3 separate regions of the Homo sapiens genome follow, and regions 1 and 2 are each linked to region 3. Evidence: promoter capture Hi-C in 16 types of primary human blood cells and fetal thymus (Javierre and others, 2016). All regions are on one chromosome and are shown on one strand. The core of a region is centred on a gene start or on the middle of the fragment in contact, and the rest is flanking DNA. Distances in the headings are between cores, read along the strand shown. Region 1 overlaps MAP3K11 (mitogen-activated protein kinase kinase kinase 11). Region 2 holds the start of SIPA1 (signal-induced proliferation-associated 1). Region 3 holds the start of EIF1AD (eukaryotic translation initiation factor 1A domain containing).

Region 1 (3,854 bases), core at 426-2,925, 400 kb after region 3:
CACTTGAAGAAAGGGCTTCTCACGTATAGACTGCTTAGGAAGCCAGAGGGTCAGGCAGAAGGCAGGGCTCCAGCATTGCAGGGAGGAGGGCTCACTCAGCTCAACACTGCCCAGCTCTGAGTGAGGCCAGAGAGTTATGGCCTCCCTTGCCTGTGGGTCCCTGTGCCAACCTAGGGACCATCCTCAGAGCCCCCACACCTGCTGCTCACAGCCAGAATGTAGGACCCGCTTAGCTGCTCTCAGAAGAGTCCTGTTCAGCAAGCCGTTTAAACTCACTCCTCCCATCCCACCCAGCCCATCGCCTCTTCCATTCCCTGAGCTACACTTGATAGTTGTAACAACAGCTAACCTTTGTTGGTTCTCTTCTATGTGCCAAGCAGTTCTGTGAGGGGAGTAGTAGTATTGGCCTGCATTTTACAACAGAGAAAACTGAGGCACAGAGAGATTAAGTGGTTTGATGTAAGGCAACCAGTAGAGCAGGGATTTGATCTGCTCTTGCCTGTCTGACCACAGAGGCAGAGCCCTGGGCCTCCATCTGCCCCGCCATTTGCTACTCCAGCAGCTGCACTGCCCCCAGCATCTGTCCTGCAGGGACTGAACTGAGAGCTGGAAGGCCAAGGAGGCTTCTTGAATTCACTTGCTCTAAATTGTACCAGGCCAGATGGGCCAAAGGAGAACTTGAGAGCCTGTCAACCCAGGTGTGTAGGCTGAAGCAGGTCCTGACTGTTCCACAGAACTCTCTGGCCCTCAGCTCCCAGAAGCAGGGGCACAAGGGGCCTGGGCCCCATCGTTCTCAAGCTTGCCCCATGTTTTTTTATCCAAAGAATTTGTTAATTATTTATGAAGAGAAACTACTTATTAGCCCATATATTCATGAATAGTTCAGATCAGTGACAAACTTCTAAGTAATTCAACCCAAAGAAATTCTTCATATTCCAAAATCACTTTGCATTCTGAGAGATAGCAGCCTTCCTCATCTCCTCGAAGTATTTCATGGCATCATAACTTCTGTAGACATCTGTGCCCATAGAAATCTGAAATGCCTTCTTTCTTGGTCCAGCCCCTGCAAACTGAGAGAGCCGCAGCCCCCAGGGATACAGTGAATGCTCCCACAATATGAAATTGCAGATGTGTGGCCAGAAGGCCACATGTCTGAGGTTTCATGAAAGCACTGGAAACCATGGTAGTTACTGTTCTTGATAAGTATGTCGGCCTCAACACCAGTGCCCTTCCTGGCTGATGAAGAAATGGATTGCCACTTGCCCTGAAAGGATGTCAGCTGCCCAGCTCAGTGGCTGGCTGAGCATCTGGTTCCCCTAGCCCAATCCCACACTCCACGCATCATCTGGGTCCATGAAAGTACATGACATTGACCTCACAGCCACCCCCCGAAACCCAGCTAAGAATCAAATAATGGGGCTTCACAGAGGTCCCAGACCCTGTGAGATGGTCCCCGGCATAAGCCATACCACTGGAGAGTCACACACACCCTCACCCTGTCCCCAGTGGGCTGTTCTGGTCCCTGGAGAGCTGGCTGCAAGGAGTGGCACATTGGCAGGGTGCACTCAGCTACGCTGATAGCAACTGCCCTGTGAAGCTTGTTGCCTTAGAGCCAATAACTACGTGGCTGTGTCCTCCCTGTGAGACCTCACGGAAGCAGTTTCGCCTCTATCTATCTATCTTTGGGTCAAGAATAGTCACGCAGCTTTCTCCTAAACAACAGAGTTGCTAACTCTTGCTGCCAGGAAGCTTAGAGGCAGATTCAAATCCTAGCTGGATTATGTTGACCAAGTCCCTTACCCTTCAGAACCTCAGTTTCTCAGGCCATTGACTGCAGGAACTTCTGTTCACTCTCATTTTGTCTGCTGGACCCTATCTTCTCTTCCCTTTGTCTCATTTCTGTCTTTTATTTTTTTAAAGATAGAGTCTCATTCTGTTACCCAGGCTGGACTGCAATGGCATGATCATGGCTCACTGCAAACTCTGCCTCCCAGGCTCAAGTGATCCTCCCACCTCAGCTTCCTGAGTAGCAGGGACTACAGGTGCATGCCATGCTTGGCTAATTTTTATATTTTTTGTAGAGATGGGGTTTTGCCATGTTGCCCAGGCTGGGCTGCGCTTAAGTAGTCCACCCACCCCAGCCTCCCAAAGTGCTGGCATTACAGGTGTGAGCCACCACACCCAGCTTGCTCTTGCTATTTTCTTTTTTTTTTTTTAGAAGGAGTCTTGTTCTGTCACCCAGGCTGGAGTGCAGTGGTGCGACCTCAGCTCACTTCAGCCTCCACCTCCCACGTTCAAGCAATTCTCCCTCAGCCTCCCCAGTAGCTGGGATTACAGGCATGTGCCACCATGCCCAGCTAATTTTTTTTTTTTTGAGATGAAGTGTCATTCTGTTGCCCAGGCTGGAGGGCAGTGGTGCAATCTCGGCTCACTACAACCTCCACCTCCCAGGTTCAAGTGATTCTCCTGCCTCAGCCTCCCAAGTAGCAGGGATTACAGGCATGTGCCACAATGCCCGGCTAATGTTTGTATTTGTAGTAGAGATGAGGTTTCACCATGTTGACCAGGCTGGTCCCGAACTCCTGACCTCAAGTGAGCCACCTGCTTCAGCTTCCCAAAGTGCTGGGATTACAAGCGTGAACCACCATGCCCGGCCTAATTTTTGTATTTAGTAGAGACAGGGTTTGACCATGTTGGCCAGGCTAGTCATGCACTCCTGACCTCAAGTGATCTGCCCTACTTGGCCTCCCAAAGTGCTGGGATTATAGGCTTGAGCCACCACTCCCAGCCTCTCTTGCTTTTTTTTTTTTTTTTTTTGAGATGGAGTCTCACTCTGTCACCCAGGCTGGAGCGCAGTGGCGGGATCTCGGCTCACTGTAACCTCCGCCTCCTGGGTTCAAGCGATTCTCCTGCCTCAGCCTCCCAAGTAGCTGAGACTACAGGTGCGTGCCACCATGCCCTGCTAATTTTTGTATTTTTTAGTAGAGACAGGGTTTCACCATGTTGGCCAGGATGGTCTCGATTTCTTGACCTCGTGATCCGCCCACCTTGGCCTCCCAAAGTGCTGGGATTACAGGTGTGAGCCACCGCACCCGGCCAACTCTTTCTTTTTTTTAAACATGATTTCCCCTCTTCTGTTTAAACTCACTGTAAATGATCAGTTCTTCACCTGCGAAGTGGGGGTGATATGATAACCTCGTGGTTGGTGCAAGGATTATAAAAATGGATTCTTCATCAAACAAGAATTTGCTTTTTTTTTTTTTTGAGACGGAGTCTCGCTCTGTTGCCCAGGCTGGAGTGCAGTGGTGTGATTTTGGCTCACTGCAAGCTCCGCCTCCTGGGTTCATGCCATTCTCCTGCCTCAGCCTCTTGAGTATCTGGGACTACAGGCGCCCACCACCACGCCTGGCTAATTTTTTGTGTTTTTAGTAGAGACAGGGTTTCACCGTGTTAGCCAGGATGGTCTCGATCTCCTGACCTCGTGATCATCCCACCTGGGCCTCCCAAAGTGCTGGGATTGCAGATGTGAGCCACCGCGCCTGGCCCAGGGATTTGCATTTTAAGAGCCAGGCATCAACATGTTAAACACTGCCCTGACCTCATATGATGAAGCAGGCAGACTCATAAACAAGTCCAGTAGCACCTCTATGAGGCATAACGTGAGCAATAACTGTGTAGGTTCAGGGAGATTCTGGGAGGGCTTCACAGAGGAAGTGACATCCCAGTTGGTCTTGGATGGTGCATAAGAGGTCACTGAAAGCCAAGGTGGGAAAGGTCAGCCACCCAGAGTGAATAGTGTGTGCGCAGGCATGCAGCTCACCATACCCAAGGAAAAGGCAACCTGGCTGAACTCC
Region 2 (4,091 bases), core at 1,592-4,091, 360 kb after region 3:
CCGCCGGCCCACATGGGCATGCTCTGTGGGCCTGACTCTCCGGGGGCTGGGCCGCATTGGCGGGCACGGGTGTTTGGTGCCCAGCCTGAGGTTGTGGCAGCAGTTCCTGCCCTGAAGGAGGAGGGGGCTGCTCAGAGGGGCCTGGGCAGAAAACAGGAACCCAGGCCCCCAGCCTGGTCCTCCACCACCCGTGTTGGCTTCCGGCCCCCTCCGAGACCATCAAAGCTGCTTCCGCTTTCCAGGCCACTTCCTTGTCTGCCTAGGGCTAAAGTTTCCAGCCCCCTCCCCAGCTTAGCTGGGCAAGGCTAGAGGCTGGGCTGTTGGGTCTTGGTCCTGAGGGTCCTGGAGCCTGGGCAGCCCTGGGACTGCCAGGGTCCCCCAGTCGCCACCCACACACCTTAGCTTTGGCCTGGGCCCAGAGTAAGGGTCCCACCAGGACCTAGCCCAACCGGACAGATGACTTGTATTGGCTGGGACGGGAAACCCAGGGGCCACTGGTGTCTGGGTCCTGCCCACTTAACAAAGGGAGGACGTCCTGTCCCCAGAGACCTTCCTCCTTGCCCCTCCCACTTCCTTCAGGGTCCCTGGAGAGCTGATCACCCAGAGAGGTCTGATCTCAGTGCCCTGGACCTCAAGGCCTCAATACCACAAGGACACATGGGTTCCCAGGGAGGCAGCGGCAGGGCAGCAGGAATGGCAAGAGGACTTCCTTCAGCACAGGAAGTAGCCCCAACTGTGGGCCCAGCCCTCTGCCAGGCCCCCACATCCTGAGGAAGGTGCTGGGGTCACAGCAGCTGTCATGGGACCCCAGTCACCCTGCCCTGAAGGACAGGCCAACTCACCTTCTTGCAGGCTACTGTGCCCAGGCTTGGGGGCAAGAGGAGTCACAATGACAGGGACCCATAGGGACCTCTGCCTACCTGGTCTCACTGATGCAGACAGGGAGGTCTGAACCCCATGTGACAGATGGTCAGATGAGGTCCAGAGGAGATGCTCTTGCCTGAAGCAATTCCGTGTCAGAGCTAGGATGTGAGCCTGGGTCTGCCCATCTCCAGGCCCTAAGCAGGGCTGCACCTGCCCACTGCTGTCTGTGTGCGTAGGTTTTGGGGGGTGGGTGTTGGGCTGAGGTTCAAGGTCTCACAGGATGCAAGATTGAGACACCCAAAGCCCCAGGGACCTGCTAAGTGCGGAAACGTGACGCCAGAGGCAGGTGCAAATGGTGGTGTGAGAACTTGAGGGAAGCCACACCCAGGCAAGCCCTGGATGGAGTAGGCAGTGAGGACAGGGAGCTGGGGAACCTCCACTGGGGGTACAGGCATCTAATGGTGGGTCTTCATGCAGCATCCAGCAACATCATGCGGGGCTGGGCCGGAGGGGGGTGGAGGAGGGGCTCCACACACCCTTCGTCTGGGGCCTCCAGAACCAAGCAAGAGTCGGCTCCCCAGCCCAGGTGCTTCTACCTTGATTTCTCCTGAATAAACTCCCATGCTGACCTTGAGCCTCTGTTTTCTCATCTCTAAAATGGGGTTAACTGGCCGGGTGCGGTGGCTGTGGCCTGTAATCCCAGCACTTTGGGAGGCCAAGGCGGGGGGATCACCTGAGGTCAGGAGTTCAAGACCAGCCTAGCTAACATGGTGAAACCCTGTCTCTACTAAAAACATAAAAATTAGCCGGGTGTGGTGGTGCGCACCTGTAGTCCCAGCCACTCAGGAGGCTGAGGCAGGAGAATCGCTTAAACCTGGGAGGCAGAGGTTGCAGTGAGCCGAGATCGCGCCACTGAACTCCAGCCTGCGGGACAGAGTGAGACTGTCTCCAAAAAAACAAAGAAAAAAATTGGGTTTAATTATTTCTGTCCCCTCCCAAGGCTGCTGAGAGACTGAGAAGAATGAGGTGAGTGTCGCTAGCTATGTGTGTGTGTGACGGGTGTAGCCCCTGGCTCCATGAGCCAAGCTCTGGGCACATTCAGCGCTCGGGCCTGGGCTATAGTGTGTGAAGGAGTAGGAGGGCATGAGGGAGGGGGTCTGTGCAAGCCCCGCTCCTTGTGGGCTGAGCTCTGCACGCTTGGAAGTGAGATCTGTGCATGTGTGCACCCAGCCTGTGCGCTGCCTCTTGCTGTGGCCCAGTGCCAGGCTCTGGCGCTGCCTTGAGGGGTGTTCTCGGGCTCTGCCCCCCACCCTGAAGCTTCACACAGGGTCCATTGAGGCTAGGACATTCCTCCGGGCCTGTGTCACTAGGGGTGGGGGGAAAGGGCCGGCCCCGCCCCCACAGATCCGGAAGGCCTGGCTGCCCCAGGAGGAGGAGCTGGCCACTTCCCAGCACATCTGGAGGTCATGACCCCATTTCGGCTGCCAGGGGGCGCGACAGATGTTTCCTCCCAGGCCAGGCCAGGGACTGGGGTGGAGGCCGCCTAAGAAGAAGAGGAGCCTCAGAATAAGGGGGAGCCCCGCACACACTTGCAGTGTTGAGGGGGAGGGGGTCACAGTGCCGCCACCAGGAGTCAGGAGCCGCCGCTTCCACTCACCGGCTGGCTGGCCAGGCTAAGCCGTCACACAGAGAGAGTAGGAACGGCTGGTCAGAGACAGGGGGCTGGACATATTGACTCGGGACTGAGCTGGAGCCCGGAGGGAAGTTGGGAGGGTGCTGGCGGCGAACGTGGCGAGGACCCCACTCCCATACACATCACCCGGGCCCACGGCTAGGCCACCTCTCCCCTGTCGGGCCCGACAGTAGTGCCTCCCGTCCCCTGCTCCCGCCAGTACCTCTGGGGCTCCCGCCCAGCCGCCGCCGCCCGCGCTGGGGTCCCGCTGCCGCTCTCCCGCTACCGCTCCCGGCGCCGGCTCCGCCTGGGGGCGGGGCCATGCTGGGAGGCGGGGCCATGCCGGGAGGCGGGGCCGGCCGGGAGCTGTCTGCGGCGGGAAGCGCAGCAGCGGGGATTCCAGGCCTGGCGGAGGTCAGCACCGAGCAGTGCTCATTCTAAGGCCATTTCCTCTCCTGAGAAACTTGTGCCTGCCTTCCAGACCAACCGGGAGGGCTAGCGGAGGCCACCTAGCGTCCAGCTCCCGGCCAGCAGGTGCTCAAGAGTCTGCCACTATTTTATGGAGCACTTGCTAAGCACTGGGCCCTGGGCAACCATTCCACTAGCGCGCTCTCATTTATTCTAAAAACACCTTAGATAGGTGTCATCTCTTTACGCCCTGGAGCAGCTGAGGTGCAGAGAAAGGCTTTGGCCAAGAACAAGCCTGATAAATGTAGGAGCCACCAGACCTGGAAGTCTGACCATATGGTGGGAAATGGCAGACAATACCCTTCAGATAAAGGCTTGAAAAGGGAGCAGCCATGCGGTGAAGAGGACCCGGTTCTACCTGAACCCCACCTTGGTCTGCCCTTGATCTCTACTAGACTTCAGCCCCACATCCTTCACCCCTCTGCGTGCTTGTCCATCCCAACTTAGCCGCCTGTACTATCATGTACCCATTCCCAGGTAGAAAAAGAAACTGCCAACCAAAATCAAAAATAGTGTTATTAATTCTGATGTCTCCGAAGCACAAAAAAAAAAAAAAAAAAGAAAAGAAAAAAAAGGAAAGAAAGAAACCACCCTTCCCACAATTCAGGCCCCAGGTCCAGGCCAAGGGGGCCACACCTGCAGGCAGTGCAGGCCCAGGGGCTGAGGTGGTCCTGGCCACAGGCTCCAAGTGGGACCAGCCCATGGTTTGGCTCTTAGGGCCTGGCTGGGAGGCTGACTGCCTCCATCTGGGGAGCCCAGGCCCTGGACTGGGGATGAGAGAGATCAGGGGTCAAGGTCAGAGGTCTGGGTCACTCAGTTTTGGTACTCTGGCCAAGGCAGCCAAAGGTCAGGGTTCAGACATGTAGGCCAAAGCCACTCAGTTCTGTGGTCCAGCAGAGAGGCAGCAGAGCAGGTCCGTTACTGAATCCTAGGAGGTGGTCCAGTGGGCGCCAGGTAGCTCAGTACTGGTGTTCCAGCAGGGGCTGGGCTGCCGGGCTCTCACGCTCCTCAATAGGGGCAGGCCAGTCGCCCAGGGCACCCATAGGTGTGCCACTCTCAGGGGCACTGCTGTCCAAGCAAGGAATGT
Region 3 (3,870 bases), core at 1,371-3,870:
AAGAAATAATAGGGCTGGCCGGGTATGGTGGCTCACACCTATAGTCACAGCGCTTTGGGAGGCTTAAGGATCGCTTAAGGCCAGCATGGGCAACAGAGCAGGGCCCTGTCCCTATTAAGTTAAAAAGTAAACAAAAAGAACAGGACTAAAATGTACTGAGGTGTACTCCCCTCACATCCTTCCAGCTGTGATGCCTGTGCTCCTTCTCCTCCCTAAGAGATCATGGAAGATGGCAAGCACCCTGCCCACCCTTACAGAGGCCGGGAGAGCAGATGATGACTGGCAGGTGAACTCTCACCCACATCCGGCCCACCCTGTCTGGTACCTCTGACTCCCACTGACTTTTCCACCAGGTGCTGCCTAGCCCAGCTGTTGACTTAACTGACATCTGGAGCACAGTCCATCTGGCTCCCAGGAAAAGATCCACCCACACCCTCTCCCACATCACTCGGGGATTGAGACAAAAGTCACCTGCCTGAGGCCTACATGGCTAGGGTGGCTGCCCTCTGGGAGTGGAAGGGAAGCTGCCAGTTTCGGTCTCTACTGATAAGGAGTGAGGGAAACATGGTCAGTCCCTGAAGGAGAGGCAACTCCCAGCCCACTTGCTTTTCAGTGCACAAAGCCCAGTCATGAAAGCCACTGACTTTATTGATCTAAAAAACTTTACAAGGACAGTGACTGTTCTGCCAAAAAAGGAGCCAAATGGTATCAAACGGATTGAAAGTGAGGGTGGGGGTGAGGGATGGGGCCGGGAATCCATTCAGGAAAGCTGGTAACTGTCACCAGGGAACTGGCAAGGGAAAAAGGACGGGGGAGGCATGCAAGAGCGAGAATCCAAAAAAAAGTTGAAATGGTTAGGGGAGAAAACTCCCAAAAGACCCCGGAGTACGTCGGAGGTGAGTACGACAATAGCAATCTTTTCCTTCGTAGAGGACAGGGGAGGAGTCCCTACTCGGCTGCAAACTCTGGATGAGGGCTGGGGATTGAGAGCTTCCCAGAGAGCATCACAAGAAGGCGTCGCACCACTCTCGAAGGCATCCGAAGCAGTCCCGGGACTGCTTGGCGTTGGCGCCACAAGTGTCTTTCAGCCATTCCCGGAAGAGGTCTTCATCTTTCTTTAGCACCAGAAACTGGCCAAGGACAACATAGGCCTGCAAAACAGGGAAAAGGAAGGAGCGTGCTGCTCAGTGCTCAGTGAGAGATAAGAGCAAGACAGCCATTCCTGTGCCATTCAGAGCACACAAGCCCAGGAAGCAGCGCGGGTTTTGCCCCCCTCTCCTCTCCACCAGGTGCCCAGGCTCTGGCAGCCTCTTCAGATTATACCTTACTGTCCATCCCCCAGCAGATGGAATCACTTCCCTTCCACCCCCCGCTTGCACTAGGTACACGCAGCCACCCCACACCTTGTCAAAACCCCTTTCCTCCAGCTTCTTGCCCAGGACTTCACCAATCCCAGCCAGGCTCCCCACTGGCTTCTCCCCCATGGGCTCTGCCACGAAGTCTCGGTGCTTTTGGGAGGTTGTCATCTTGATCAGGCTTAATCTAGGAATCCCAAAAAAAAGGCAGATTAGGGCTGAAGACCTGGAACTTCTAAGGGCCCACGAGCAATCTCATAGTAAGAGGAAGCCAAGCCAGGGGTTACAGTGGCTTGCTCGATCCCCCTCATCCTGAAAGGAGAAAACAGTTCCAGGGAGACTCTTCCCTACTATTTTTAAGAGGAGTTTCTTCCTGCAGGACCTGGATTTTGATCTTGCCCCAGAGGAAAAACGATCCTGCCTAACAGGTGGCGCAAGCGGGGCAGTGGAAAGATGCCCAGAGTCCGTAGCCAGGGCTGCGCGGAAGCTATCACTCCCTCTGTGACCTTGGCTGAACCAAGACGACACTGCCTGCCTGGAACGGCCACTTGGCGTGGAAAGCTAACCAAAGGGTCTCTCTACCTACAGGGCGAAGCGCACACCTAGCGCTGCGCACACCCGCTCCCCGCCCGCGGGGTTCACGCCGCGCCCCAGCTCCGCCCCCACCGCGCGCCGCTGCGGCCCGCCCCTTCCCGCGGCCCGGCTCCCACGCGCTGCACCCCGCCCCCTCCCCGCAGCGCGGCCAAGCTCTCCCCCAGGGCCCGCCACAGCGCCTGCGACCCCTCTCCTCCCCTTCTCCCCGCAACCCCTCTGGCCTCCAATCAGGGCCCTGCTCCGCGGCTGGCGCTCACCCGCAACTTCAGTTCCCGTAACGGTTCCTCCCGCCACCCGGCCGCTCCTGCGGATACCTCAAGCCACTAGAACTTTCTTCCACTTCCGCTTCCGGGTCGCTTCAAGAGCCGCCTTTAAAAAAGAAACATTCCACGTTGGGCACTTCTAGCCAGTTAGAGCTATAGAGTTGAGGCGCCCCGGACCTCGACGGCGTCCTTAGTAGGCGCTCCTTTCCGGTCCTTCGCGGGAAGCCCTGCCTTCTAAGGTCTCGCTTCTCGCGCAGTTCTGAGGGAGATAGGCCTCCAGGGAGAGGACTTCCTTTCTCTGCTGCCCGGACCCGGAACTCAAGGACTTAGGCTTGACGGACCTGGCGTGGGGAAGAGTTAGAAGACGGACAAGGGAGGGGACGGGAGGCCTCCGAGACAGCGCCGGAAGTACGGTTTTCGGAGGGATCAGACTCAGACTCACGTCGCACTCCTCGCAGTTGGACTGGTGGGAACTGGGAACACTGGAGACCTGATTTCTAACTGACGCTACCGTCGCGGCCGCCGGCAAGTTCCTTTACTGTGTTTTCTTGGTTCAGCCTTGAAGTGAGTCGTGGACGATCCTCTCTCAGCGTCCAGCCTAGACGGCGGTGTTGCTCCGGCAGCGTTCCTGGGAGCCGAGGGCCAGAGACTAAGTGTGGGTGTTTCTCTGAGGGTCTTTTCTCCGGGATAGACAGGGAGGAGGAAGGAGGACAGCAACTAGAGACGACAGTGTTTCTTTCGGAAACCATCAGTCTTAAGGGTACTGGCCTTCGTCTTCTAAGTACGCAAGTCAGAAATATGCAAATGTCGCAGACAAGCCTGCTCACCTCAACCTTTAATTAACTAGTTCCTGGCTTGAACCATCACGGTGGCCACCTAGTTTGTCTCCGGCTGTAGTGTGTTGCCAGACTGAACTTCTCTGTTGTGTGACTATGCTAGACTTGGGGTGTACAAGCGTGTTGAGAAAGATACGGTTTATTTCAAACTCCTTCCAGAGAGGTTGCCAGGATGACTTCTCTGGAGCATGCGTATAGTTTTATATTACACTAGTACTTAAGATTATAGGAGTTACTTTTTTTTTTTTTTTTTTTTTGAGACGGAGTCTTGCTCTGTCGCCCAGGCTGGAGTGCAGTGGCGCGATCTCGGCTCACTGCAAGCTCCGCCTCCCGGGTTCACGCCATTCTCCTGCCTCAGCCTCCCGGGTAGCTGGGACTACAGGCGCTCGTCATCACGCCCGGCTAATTTTTTGTATTTTTGTAGAGAGAGGGTTTCACCGTATTAGCCAGGATGGTCTCGATCTCCTGACATCGTGATCCGCCCACCTCGGCCTCCCAAAGTGCTGGGATTACAGGCGTGAGCCACCGCGCCCGGCCGGAGTTACTTTTACATGACATGCATTGTATTGTCCCATTCTGTTGTAGCAGGACGAGTCGCAGACAGAACTCCTCAGACACCAGATTAAAGAAGGAAGAGGTTTTTTTATTCGGCCGGGAGCGTCGGCAGACTCGTGTCTTAAGAGCCGAGCTCCCCGAAAAAGAAATTCCTAGCCCTTTTAAGGGCTTACAACTCTAAGGGGTCTACGTGAAAAAGTCATAATAGATCAAGTAAGCGTGAGAAACGTGACTGGGGGCTACATACATCAGCTAACAGAACAAAAA

What was found. The method cuts DNA at HindIII sites, captures the fragments that hold promoters and counts their contacts. A CHiCAGO score of 5 or more calls a contact.
Region 1: a contact is called between a fragment that was not itself captured here and the fragment with the promoter of EIF1AD in region 3, in 8 of 17 cell types (naive B cells, total B cells, total CD4 T cells and 5 more). The highest score is 10.0, in naive B cells.
Region 2: the fragment with the promoter of SIPA1 here is called in contact with the fragment with the promoter of EIF1AD in region 3 in 8 of 17 cell types (endothelial precursors, total B cells, erythroblasts and 5 more); the score reaches 7.2 in endothelial precursors.

What each region holds. Positions count from the first base shown.
Region 1 is chr11:65,601,166-65,605,019 of GRCh38, reverse strand. The region is part of intron 8 of MAP3K11 (mitogen-activated protein kinase kinase kinase 11); the gene reads left to right. Among named protein-coding and RNA genes, the nearest start is that of KCNK7, 7.3 kb to the right of the region's middle. The HindIII fragment of the contact is 152 bases long and covers 1,600-1,751 here.
Region 2 is chr11:65,636,851-65,640,941 of GRCh38, reverse strand. SIPA1 (signal-induced proliferation-associated 1) reads right to left here and starts at 2,841. Exons shown (of 16, transcript NM_006747.4): 1 at 2,760-2,841; 2 at 1-111. The coding sequence starts at 20. It overlaps PCNX3 (pecanex 3), which reads right to left. Exons shown (of 35, transcript NM_032223.4): 35 at 3,503-4,091. The coding sequence ends at 3,964. RefSeq lists enhancers at 2,209-2,278, 3,230-4,020 and a silencer at 2,629-2,998. The HindIII fragment of the contact is 3,649 bases long and covers 2,184-4,091 here.
Region 3 is chr11:66,000,907-66,004,776 of GRCh38, reverse strand. It overlaps EIF1AD (eukaryotic translation initiation factor 1A domain containing), which reads left to right and starts at 2,620. Exons shown (of 6, transcript NM_001242481.2): 1 at 2,620-2,867. It overlaps BANF1 (barrier to autointegration nuclear assembly factor 1), which reads right to left and starts at 2,274. Exons shown (of 3, transcript NM_003860.4): 1 at 2,207-2,274; 2 at 1,404-1,542; 3 at 628-1,151. The coding sequence starts at 1,526. The coding sequence ends at 1,005. RefSeq lists enhancers at 739-1,545, 2,553-2,922 and a silencer at 1,913-2,252. The HindIII fragment of the contact is 20,996 bases long and covers 1-3,870 here.